Linked DNA regions of Homo sapiens: regions 1 and 2 are each linked to region 3. Evidence: promoter capture Hi-C in human tissues and cell types (Jung and others, 2019). All regions are on one chromosome and are shown on one strand. The core of a region is centred on a gene start or on the middle of the fragment in contact, and the rest is flanking DNA. Distances in the headings are between cores, read along the strand shown.

What was found. The method cuts DNA at HindIII sites, captures the fragments that hold promoters and counts their contacts. A contact is called where the count stands out against the background at its distance.
Region 1: a contact is called between a fragment that was not itself captured here and the fragment with the promoter of ZBTB32 in region 3, in 4 of the 25 tissues and cell types used here (dorsolateral prefrontal cortex, heart right ventricle, lymphoblastoid cells and 1 more).
Region 2: a contact is called between a fragment that was not itself captured here and the fragment with the promoter of ZBTB32 in region 3, in 1 of the 25 tissues and cell types used here (spleen).

What each region holds. Positions count from the first base shown.
Region 1 is chr19:35,971,741-35,975,363 of GRCh38, forward strand. No RefSeq gene overlaps it. Among named protein-coding and RNA genes, the nearest start is that of SDHAF1, 22 kb to the right of the region's middle. RefSeq lists a silencer at 1,814-2,014. The HindIII fragment of the contact is 9,546 bases long and covers 1-3,623 here.
Region 2 is chr19:35,431,107-35,435,031 of GRCh38, forward strand. It overlaps LOC101927522 (a long non-coding RNA gene), which reads right to left and starts at 3,547. Exons shown (of 7, transcript NR_187751.1): 1 at 3,214-3,547; 2 at 2,483-2,732; 3 at 1,753-1,996. RefSeq lists an enhancer at 1,788-2,987. The HindIII fragment of the contact is 5,373 bases long and covers 1-3,925 here.
Region 3 is chr19:35,702,541-35,706,225 of GRCh38, forward strand. ZBTB32 (zinc finger and BTB domain containing 32) reads left to right here and starts at 2,018. Exons shown (of 7, transcript NM_014383.3): 1 at 2,018-2,083. The HindIII fragment of the contact is 13,873 bases long and covers 1-3,685 here.

The DNA.
Region 1 (3,623 bases), core at 442-2,941, 270 kb after region 3:
ACATGATCCCTCTTTTCCCAAGGACTTGACACTCCTGTGTTCCTTCCTCAATTAATTGGAATTTTAGAATTTTTTTTTTTTTTTTGAGACTGAGTCTCACTCTGTTGCCCAGGCTGGAGTGCAGTGGTGAGATCTTGGCTCACTGCAACCTCTGCCTCCCAGGTTCAAGCAATTGTCCTGCCTCAGCCTCCCAAGTAGCCTGGGACTACAGGCACATGCCACCACACTCGGATAATTTTTGTGTTTTTAGTAGACACGGGGTTTCACTATGTTGGCCAGGCTGGTCTGGAACTCTTGACCTCAGGTGATCCACCTGCCTCAGCCTCCCAAAGTGCTGGGATTACAGGCGTGAGCCACTGCGCCCTGCCAAGATTTGGGCAGGGACAAATAGCCAAACTATATCAGACACTAACAACATCCCTGTGGCTGCCAGTTGAGAACAGATTACAGGGCTTGTGAAGGAATGAGGCCTGGAGGAACAACAGTGAGGAGGCTGCTGCAGTAGTCCCGGCAGGAGACAATGGGGCTTGGACCAGGGTGGGGCAGTGAACGCAGGAGAAATGTGGGCTGGAAACCACCAAGTGAGGCAAAATAAGGAAATCATGGACTGGGAGAAAGGAGGTACCCCTTGATCTGGAAGGACAGGTGGAGGCTCTTGGTAATGGGGGAAGCCCTTGGGTCCTGTCTGAAGGCTCTCCTGTTTACTGGATGAGGTGGGCACACCTGGCTCCTTGGTAGGATTACTCATCTAGATTCCTGAGAAGAGGACTTGCAAGTATTGTGTTAGGACAAATCTGGATATTGAAATCAAGACTCCCAGTTTAAAAAAAAAAAAAAAGAAGGCCGGGCACAGTGGCTCACGCCTGTAATCCCAACACTTTGGGAGGCCAAGGCGGGCGGATCACGAGGTCAGGAGTTCAAAACCAGCCTGACCAACATGGTGAAACCCTGTCTCTACTAAAACTACAAAAATTAGCTTGGCATGGTAGTGCACGCCTGTAATCCCAGCTACTCAGGAGGCTGAGAGAGCAGAATTGCTTGAACCTGGGAGGTGGAGGTTGCAGTGAGCCAAGATCTCGCCACTGCATTCCAGCCTGGGAGACAGAGCGAGACTCTGTCTCAAAAAAAAAAAAAAAAAAAAAAAAGATTCCCGGATAGAGGCTGGGCATGGTGGCTCACATCTACAATCCCAGCACTTTAGGAGGCCAAGGTGGGCAGACTGCTTGAGCTCAGGAGTTCCAGACCAGCCTGGGCAACATGACGAAACCTCGTCTCTACTTAAACACACACACACACACACACACACACACACACACACACACACACACACACACACAGAAAGATTCTTGGTTAGCTGGGCACGGTGGCTCACACCTGTAATCACAGCACTTTGGGAGGCCAAGGTGGGCGGATCACAAGGTCAGGAGATCGAGACCATCCTGGCTAGCACAGTGAAACCCTGTCTCTACTAAAAATACAAAAAATTACGGGGCGTGGTGGCAGGCGCCTGTAGTCCCAGCTACTGGGGAGGCTGAGACAGGAGAATGGCGTGAACCCAGGAGACGGAGCTTGCAGTGAGCCGAGACTGTGCCACTGCACTCCAACCTGGGCGGCAGGGTGAGACTCTGTCTCGAAAAAAAAAAAAAGAAGAAGAAGAAGAAAAAGAAAGATTCTTGGTTAGTAGACGAGGGTGGGGCATCCTAGATCTGCAAAGGCCCCACTCTCAATATCCCAGAATCCAACCCCCTCAACCTCCTTATCCTCCACCCCTCCCCGATGCTCAGGAATTCAGCCCCTCTGAAGACCCCAGCTCTTGGTCACTCCTGCAGGGGAACCCACAGCAGCTGGGGCTGTCAGTTATCCTGGGCGACAGATGGCTATGGTTGTACTTCCACACCTCAGAACCATGGGCAGAGGCAGGTCTGGAGCAAGAACCGCCCACACTGCATCTCTTTTACAACCGGCAGCACACACGTCACTGCACGTGGCTGAAGGTTGCCACTCACACAAGGCAGACTGTGCAGTGACTTCATTCAGGCAGGACCATGACATGGGCAGTCCAGATCCACTGGTCTTCGTGCATTTGGGCCCCGCAGCCACCTGATACCCTGAGCCAAGCCTTAGTCCCCACAGGAGACTGGGGGCCCTGTGCTGTCCCTGTAGCCCCAAAGGGGCCCCTTAGCCACTGCCACCAAGTGTGACACCTACACCCTTCGAGGCCAGTGCCGTGCCTGGATATGCCCCTTCCCCAGCTCCCTGCCTACGCTTTGGGAGTGCTTCCATGTCTGTGTACACCCTGTCAGGCCTCAGTGTCAACACTGAGCCCTCGAGCTTCTGGGCTGGCTGCCGTGAGTGACCCTTCAAGGGAAAGGGTTATAGGCTGCTGGGTAAAGGGGATTCTGGGACTTAGGAATGACACTCCTTAGTTCTGGAGGCTGATTCCTGGGGCAAGGGTGTAGGGTCCCTGGAAGGGGACAGCCTCTGGGTCCTGGGGGCAAGACTGCTGAGTTGGGGGGTGCGGGGAAAATAATTCTAGGGCCCAGAGACAGGGCTCTTTGGGTCTGGGGCCAGGGCTTCTGGGTCCTGGGCATGGGAACAACTTGGCTATAGGGCTGGGACTGCTGGGTTCTCAAGTTCTAGAGACTAGAACACCTAGGTGGTGACAACTCCAGTATCTGGGGTGAGCGCTCTGAGTCCCAGAGCCAGACTTATTTATTTATTTAGACAGGATGTCACTCTGTTGTTTATTTAGACAGGGTATCACTCTGTTGCCAAGGCTGGAGTGCAGTGGTACTATCATAGCTCACTGCAGCCTCAACCTCCCAGGCTCAAGCCATCCTCCCTCCTCAGCTTCCCAAGTATCTGGGACCACGGGCATGTGCCACTATGCCCAGATAATTTTTTAATTTTTTTTGTAAAGATGAGGTCTTCCTATGTTGCCCAGGCTGGTCTCTAATTCCTGAGCTCAAGTGATCCTCCCACCTTGGCCTCCCAAAATGCTGGGATTACAGATGTGAGCCACTACGCCTGTCCCAGAGCCAGACTTCTATGTTCTGGGGAGTGGACTTCTGGTTTCTTAGCACAGAGACTTCTTTACTCTGTGAGGCAGGGATTGCTGGGTCTGTTGCCTGGAGAGCTCCATTCTAGAGGGTGAGGACCACAGGATGTTGGTAGGGATTCCTGGAAGCTGAGAGCAGGGACATTTGCACTATAGGGGTGGCCAAATGCTTGGGTCTTGGAAACCAGACCTGGGAGTCCTGGTGTGAATACCTTTCCCTTCCTGTCTTTCTCCATCCCCACTCCTGCCCCTGCAGCTATTGAGTGCCCCGAAAACAATCACTATGAGCCATGTGGCTTATCCTGTCCAGAGACCCCCCACAGGCAGGCCCACTGGGGGTTACCACTGCCCTGCGGGCATACTTGTGCCTGCGACACAGGCTGCTTCTTCCTTTTTTAAGAGACAGGGTCCTGCCAGGCGCGGTGGCTCATGCCCGTAATCCCAGCACTTTAGGAGGCTGAGGCAGGCGGATAATCTGAGGTCAGGAGTTCAAGACCAGCCTGACCAATATGATGAAACCCCATCTCTACTAAAAATACAAAAATTAGTTGGGTGTGGTGGCAGG
Region 2 (3,925 bases), core at 1,163-3,662, 270 kb before region 3:
TACAAAAATAAAGAAAGAAAATAAAACATGATAAAAGAAATGAAACCCATACATCAGATCACTTACTCCTCTGCCTTATACCCTTCAAGAGTTTCCTATGACTTTGGGAATAAAATCCAAATCCTCACCTTGGACAACAGGGCCCTGCACCATGTGTTTTCCCTCCACCCCCTCCACCCCCAGCTGTCACGTCTCTGACCTGGTTTCCCATCACTTCCCTCATGCTCATTCCCACCCCACCCCCCCAGCCACACTGGCCTCCTTTCGGTTTCTCCATCACACCAAGCTTCGTATCGCCTCAGGGCCTTTGCAAAAAATGTCCCATCTGCCCCGAGTGTTCCTCTCCCAGCTCTTCCATGGAGAGCACCTACAGGCCTCGGCTCAAATGTCACCCCTTCAAGGACATTTCCCTGCTGCCCCCAGCACAGATTACCCTATTCTATCATCCAATTCTATTTCCTTCCGAAAGCGTGCCCCACATTACCTCCTATATTACTGTAGAGACTGTACTAGTGTCTCACCCCTCCCCACAACTACAATGTCAATTTCATGAAGGCAAGAACCATGTCTGCCTTTAAAAAAAAAAAAAATCAGGGTCTCACTCTGTCCCACAGGCTAGAGTGCAGTGGCACAATCTAGGCTCACTGCAGCTTTGATCTCCTGGGCTCAAGTGATCCTCTGACCTCAGCTTCCTGAGTAGCTGGAACTAAAGGCATGCACTACCACATCTGGCTAATTTTTGTATTTTTTTGTAGAGATCAGGTGTCACCATGTTACCCAGGCTGGTCTTGAACTCCTGAGCTCAAGCAATCCACCTGCCTTGGTCTCCCACCAAGTGCTGGGATCATAGGCATGAGCCAACACACCCAGCCACAATGCCTGTCTTGTGATGCTCTATCCCCAACCATCCATGGAGAGATGAAAATGCATGATCTGGTTGTTACCTTGCACTCAGCTGCCTAATCCAAGAGACATGCAGGTGACTTTGAGAAGGCTGGGGCTGTCCTGGGCCCACAGAATTCAGACAGAAGACACTGGGGAAAGGAGAGGAGGTGGGACAGGGACCAGACACAGAGCACTGGAAAGGAGAGGATGTGCAGGAGCAAGAGCTGAGCCGGATTTTCCAGACGGCGGCAGACTCTGGGGGGCTGCCTGGACTTGGGGCATTTTTTCTGGGCTGGCCCTGGACTTAGAGAATATTTTTGTGATTTAGCGGCCCCAATTTTTGTGAAATGTCCTCTGCTGACTGAGAGATTAACCTGCTTTGACTGGGCCATGCTAAAAAATGAACAGGAATTTGATATAGTCCAGTGTGGAGGTGGAGAGGGAGGGAGGTGAAGAAAGAACAGAAGGAAGGGGTAAGACACACTGAGGAGCAGATGGAAGTTACCTGAGGGGATCCTCCAAAGAAGAAAGGGTGGGCTATGCAAACAGTGGATGTAAAAAGACGCCTGGAAGAAGTTAGGACTTGGATTTCTAGGAGAGATTAATTCGACTTGTAGGAGCAGGGATTTGGGGAGAGGCAGAGGGCTCTGCTGCCTCTGAAAGAGCTCACCGAGTGCGCTCCCTCTCTCTGACTAAGGACCCCTGTGGATAAGAAAGCTCTCTGCCCTAGAGAAGAAGAGCAGTCAAGGTGCTTACAGGCTCTTTCCCGAAGACTGAAGACCTTTCCCAGGGTGGACTGTGGTGCCCTTCCCTGTGCAGGCACCCTGACCACTGTGTGTTCAGAGAAGAGGGATGTGGCACACACACCTGAGAAGCACTGGGACTCCTGCGAGACCAAGTGGGAGGTTGCCACTCCTGGGGACCATCTGATGGGAAGCAGCGGTGAAGAAAAGGGAATGGCGTCTGGATGTGGATGGAGGCAGGTGCTTCTACTGCTGCCCGGCCAGAGAGGAGCATCCCCAGAGGGTCCGTCCCTAGCCAGGCTGGAAGCTTGTCTCTGCGCATCTGGTCCCCTCTCGAAGCAGTTCTCAAAAGCCGTTGAGACACACTGCTGGGATGTGGCAACACACCAAGAGGCAAGAAATGTAAGTCCATGGTTCCTGGTAATACTGAAAAAACTAGGCTTTGGAAGTTTAAGTAAACAAAGAAATGAGAGGATATAAGGTAAGCTGTTACAACGTCACTGTCAGTTATGAGTATTCTGTTATGCTTTCTTTTGAGCCAGTCTCGCTCTTTTGCCCAGGCTAGAGTACAGTGGCATGATCTCGGCTCACTGCAACCTTTGCCTCCCGGGTTCAAGCGATTCTCCTGCCTCAGCCTCCTGAGTCACTGGGATTACACATGCCCGCCACCACACCCAGCTAAATTTTTTTGTATTTTAGTACAGACAGGGTTTCACCATGTTGCCCAGGGTGGTCTCAAACTCCTGAGCTCAGGCAATCCGCCCACCTCAGCCTCGCAAAGTGCTAGGATTACAGGTGTGGGCCATCATGCCTGGCCCCCATTACACTTTCTAGAGAGAGGAAGAAGTACTAACCTCACAGTGCAGACTGGAGACTGCACAGCACATGCGCAGATGGTCTTGACAGAGGATGCCTCCCTCTGTGCTGGGGAACTCATCCTTGCCCATTCAGTTTCCGTGGCTCAAGCAGGCTGATGTCAGCCCTTGGCGATGCTGTTGGCGTGTGTGACCCACAAATCATTCAGAGGCAGCAGAGCCAGCCTGGAGATCCGGGCTGTGACTTCAGGACAGGAGACCCTCTCTCTGCACAGGTTATTATCCTAAACTGCCAAAGGTCACTGCGTGAAGCAATTTTACTAAGAGCCACCAAACCCCTCTCTTCCCTCCAACCAAGTTCATTCACCCTTCTCAGAAGAGCCCAAGAGACCTCTGTGAGAGTAAGACAGGAGTTGGCGATGGTGCAATTTGCAGAACGCCATGTTTGTTAGCGCCTTGTCTTCATGTGGCCGGAGGGCACTCCTGAAGCTTCAAACTCCTGTAAAAACGCTTCCTGTCCAGGGAGGGTGGTATGGGAAGTCTGAGGTGGCTGGGAGAGGAACTGGCGAAGTAAGGAGTTGGAGCAGGAGTCAGAGAGACATGGGATGGGGAAACTCACAAGCAGACTCCACCCCAGTCAGGGAACCTCACTCACCGTTCCATTAAGGGCTGGAAAAGGAGGCACCGACAGGTGTCTCACAGAAGCGAATGGTAGCTGTTCAGGAGGCTGGACCCAGGAAAAAGGACATAAAATCGGGGAGGTGCCTCACCCTAATTTTTCTCAACTCCAGCAGAACCTTCTTAGAGAGCCTCACTCAATTCCACATTTCTCCTCCTCTCAGACAAGCCCGGCAGCTCCGTCCACGTCCTTTGCTGAATGGAGCCAGCGTGGTCACTTCTGCCCTATCGAGGAAGCTGAAGGCCCTGGCCCATCTCTGACAGCTCAGGGCACAGGAAAGCCTTGCCTCTGCCTAGTCTGCCCTCTGCTTCCCCACCAGCGTCATCTGTGGCCCACGGCTCTTGGCTGGACCTGCACTGAAGGACACAGCTGCTCCGAGCTACACAACAGGGTGGCTGTCCCTCCGCCCTCCATGTGTGGTGGCTGCTGCAGCAGGATACAGCCAGCCTCCTGGCTGCTATCCCACAGTGCTATGGTTGATTGCGTTCTTACACTGGAAGATAAACAGTGCTTGTGTCAAAGAAAATAGAAACAAGGCCGAGCATGGTGGCTCATGCCTGTAATCCCAGCACTTTGGGAGGCGGAGGTGGGCAGATCACTTGAGGTCAGGAGTTTGAGATCAGCCTGTCCAACATGGCGAAACCCCATCTCTACTAAAAATATAAAAATTAGCTGGGTGTGTTGGCATGCGCCTGTAACCCCAGCTACTCGGGAGGCAGAAGCAGAAGAATTGCTTGAAACCGGGAGGCAGAGGTTGTAGTGAGCCAAGATCGCACCACTGCACTCCAGCCTGGGAGTGCTCA
Region 3 (3,685 bases), core at 768-3,267:
TCCCAGGCTAAGCCACTTAGAAAGGAGCGGAGCCAGCCAATCAGCGGTGCAACCGCCGCGGGGGCCGGGCCAGAAGCCCCGCAGACAAGCACCTCGGGAGACTGGCGAGGGGCGAGCTCGCAGCTTGTTAGCCCCGAAGCCCTGCCCAGGGGGAAACCCTGCTGGAGGGAGTCTAACCCCCGGGCCAGTTAATGTTGGGGCAGCGCAATCGGCCGTTCCCTCTGCGGTATGGTTGGAGGTGGGAGTGCTGACACGTCCGCGCGCAGTTACTCCTGGCTGAGCATACAGTCGAGGTGGCAGTGGGAATTGGAAGTGCAAGTGTCACGCTGCCAATCACGGGGCAAGGCACTGCCCCCCTCTTGTGTCTTTCCTGTCCCTGTACACTTCCAGGCTTCCAGGCGAGGCAGAGTGAGCTGTGCCAGCAATCGTGGTGGAGTGGGACAAGAGAGAAAAGGGAGCTGTTCACAGGCACCGAAGCCTGGCTGGCTCTTTTTTTTTTTGAGACGCCGTCTCGCTCTGTCTCCCAGGCTGGAGTGCAGTGGCGCGATATAGGCTCCCTGCAATCTCCGCCTCCCGGGGTTCAAGCGATTCCCCTGCCTCAGCCTGCCGAGTAGCTGGAATTACAGGCGCCCGCCACCACGCTCAGCTAATTTTTGTATTTTTAGTAGAGACGGGGTTTCACCATGTTGGTCATGCTGATCTCGAACTCCTGACCCCAGGTGATCCGCCCTCCTCGGCCTCCCAAAGTGCTGGGTTTTCAGGCGTGAGCCACCGTGCCCTGCCTGGCTGGCTCTTTTATTTTATTTTTATTTATTTATTAGAGACAGGGCCTCACTGTGTCGCCCAGGCTGCAGTGCAGTGGTGTGATCATAGCTCACTGCAGCCTCGACCTCCTGGGCTCAAGCGATCCTACTACCACCTGGACCTCTCAAAGCCCTGGGATTACGGGCATGAGCCACCGTGCCTGGCCTTGGCTTGCTCTTACGGGCCTCCCAGCCAATCAGGTGTGGCGGCAGCCTACACACCCCCTACACACCTCACAGATGGTAAAGGGTTGAGAGAAAGGTGACAGGGTTTGCAAATGGGAGCTACTTAGGGTGGCAAAATAGAAGCAAGAAAGGCAGGTCAGGCACGGTGTCTCACGGCTGTAGTTCCAGAATTTTGGGAGGCCCAGGTGGAAGGATTGCTTGAGCCCAGGAGTTCGAGGCTGCAGTGAGCTATGATTGCACCATTGCACCCCAGCACCGGCAACAGAGGGAGACCCCGTTCATAAAATAAAAATGAAATAATAATTTTTTAAAAAGCCGGGCGTGGTGGCTCACGCCTGTAATCCCAGCACTTTGGGAGGCCGAGGCGAGTGGATCACGAGGTCAGGAGATCGAGACCATCCTGGCTAACATGGTGAAACCCCATCTCTACTAAATGTACAAAAAATTAGCCGGGCGTGATGGCGGGCGCCTGTAGTCCCAGCTACTTGGGAGGCTAAGGCAGGAGAATGGTGTGAGCCCGGGAGTCGGAGCTTGCAGTGAGCAGAGATCGCGCCACTGCACTCCAGCCTGGGCGACAGAGCGAGACTCTGTCTCAAAAAAAAAAAAAAAAAAAAGGACAGTAGTACTCCTGAGCACTTGCTGAGGGAGCCTCCAGGGCTGTTCAGGTGAAGGAGAATCAGGGTCCAGTCTCTTCGTGGAGAGAGTGGGAAAAGGCAGACTCCACAGCAGATCAACGCTGGGGCCCGGCTGGAAATCAATGAAATCTCAGCCTAAGAGGCCTGAAGCCTATGGACCAATGAGACTCAAGGCTCTGCCCCTTCACAGCCAATCAGCTGCGGGTCCGAGGCAGACGCGCGGGAGTGGCGCTGTCCTAGGTGCCTCCCAGGCTGCCCAGCGTGCTCAGCTGGCCTGAGCGGGAGAATGCGGCCCGCGCTGCAGCCAATCAGCGTCCGCCTCAGGATCCAGGGGTGACCACGTGCGGGAGCGTTGCGTCCCTGGCCTCGCTCCATTCCCCACTTTTAACGGTCACTCGGCCTTAAGCCGTCCTGGGTGTATGTGAGGCTGAAAGGGAAGGAGGAACAGGGTCTGGGCCGGTGAGTGCCATAGTTTTTCTTACTTTACTTTCTTGGGCTTGGGCCCGGCCCAGGCAAATCTGGGGTATGGGGGCTTGACTGGACCTCGTTGATGATTGGGAAGTGCGGGTTGAGGGCTTTAGCCCTTGGGGCTTTCCTCTGCCTTTGAGAGGCTGGAAATGCAGCCTCCTGGCCACCTTTAGGCCTAGGTTTGGCAGAGGCTAAGCCAGCTTGCTCTCTGAGTTGGTCCACGGCCCCCGAGGCCAGCCTGAGTAGGAAGGGTGTTGTGGGGAAGTTGGAGGTCCTTAACTCTGCATGAGGTATGGCCTCCGGACAATGAGAGCTTATCAAGGGTCTCTGGACTGAGCCTGGATCCGGTGACTGAAAGGAGAGGCCTGTGGATCTCCAAAGGTTATGCAGGGGCTGGGCGCGGTGGCTCACGCCTGTAATCCCAGCACTTTGGGAGGCTGAGGCAGGTGGATCATTTGAGGTCAGGAGTTTGAGACCAGCCTGGCCAACATGGAGAAACCCTGTCTCTACGGGGTTTCTAAAAAAAATTACCTGGGCGTGGTGGCACACGTCCGTAATCCCAGCTACTCAGAAAGCTGAGGCAGGAGAATCGCTTGAACTCATTGAACTCAGGAGATGAACGTTGCAGTGAGCTGAGATCACGCCATTGCACTCCAGCCTGGGCGACAGAATGAGACCCTGTCTCAAGAAAAAAAATGAAAAGAAAAAAAAAGTTATGTAGGAAGTCACTGGCCAAGAGATGAAACTAGTGTGCACATGAAGGTTTCCTGGGGTCTTTGGAGCCAGCCTGGGCTGGGAGTGAATGTTCTGGACTCCAGGTTGAGATGTTCTTGGCAGATTTCCCAGTATGGAGTCCAGGTTGGATGATGTGGCCAAGAGGTTAGGCCAGTAATCCTCTGGAGATTCTAGGGAGAAGGATTCTGAATCCCAGCCGAGCTGTTTGCGCTGGATGAAGTATTATTGCCTTGTGGTGGCTCTGTACAGAACTGGGATTGGGTGGCCAGGCGTGGTGGCTCACACCTGTAATCCCAGCACTTTGGGAGGCTGAGGTGGGTGGATCACCAGGTCAGGAGCTCGAGACCAGCCTGACCAACATGGTGAAACCCTGTCTCTACTAAAAATACAAAAATTAGCCAGGTGTGGTGGCAGGTGCCTGTAATCCCAGCTACTCAGGAGTCTGAGGCAGGAGAATCCCTTGAACCCACGAGGCGGAGGTTGCAGTGAGCAGAGATCGCACCACTGCACTCCAGCCTGGGCAACAGAGCAATGCTCTGTCTCAAAAAAAAAAAATTAATTAAAAAAAAAAAAAAGCAGGGCCAGGCGTGGGGGCTCACATCTATAATCCCAGCACTTTGAGAGGCCAAGGCGGGCGGATTACCTGAGGTCAGAAGTTTGAGACCAGCATGACCAACATGGAGAAACCCCATCTCTACTAAAAATACAAAATTAGCTGGGCGTGGTGGCACATGCCTGTAATCCCAGCTACTAGGGAGGCTGAGGCAGGAGAATCGCTTGTACCTGGGAGGCGGAGGTTGCGGTGAGCCGAGATCGTGCCATTGCACTCCAGCCTGGGCAACAAGAGCGAAACTCCAT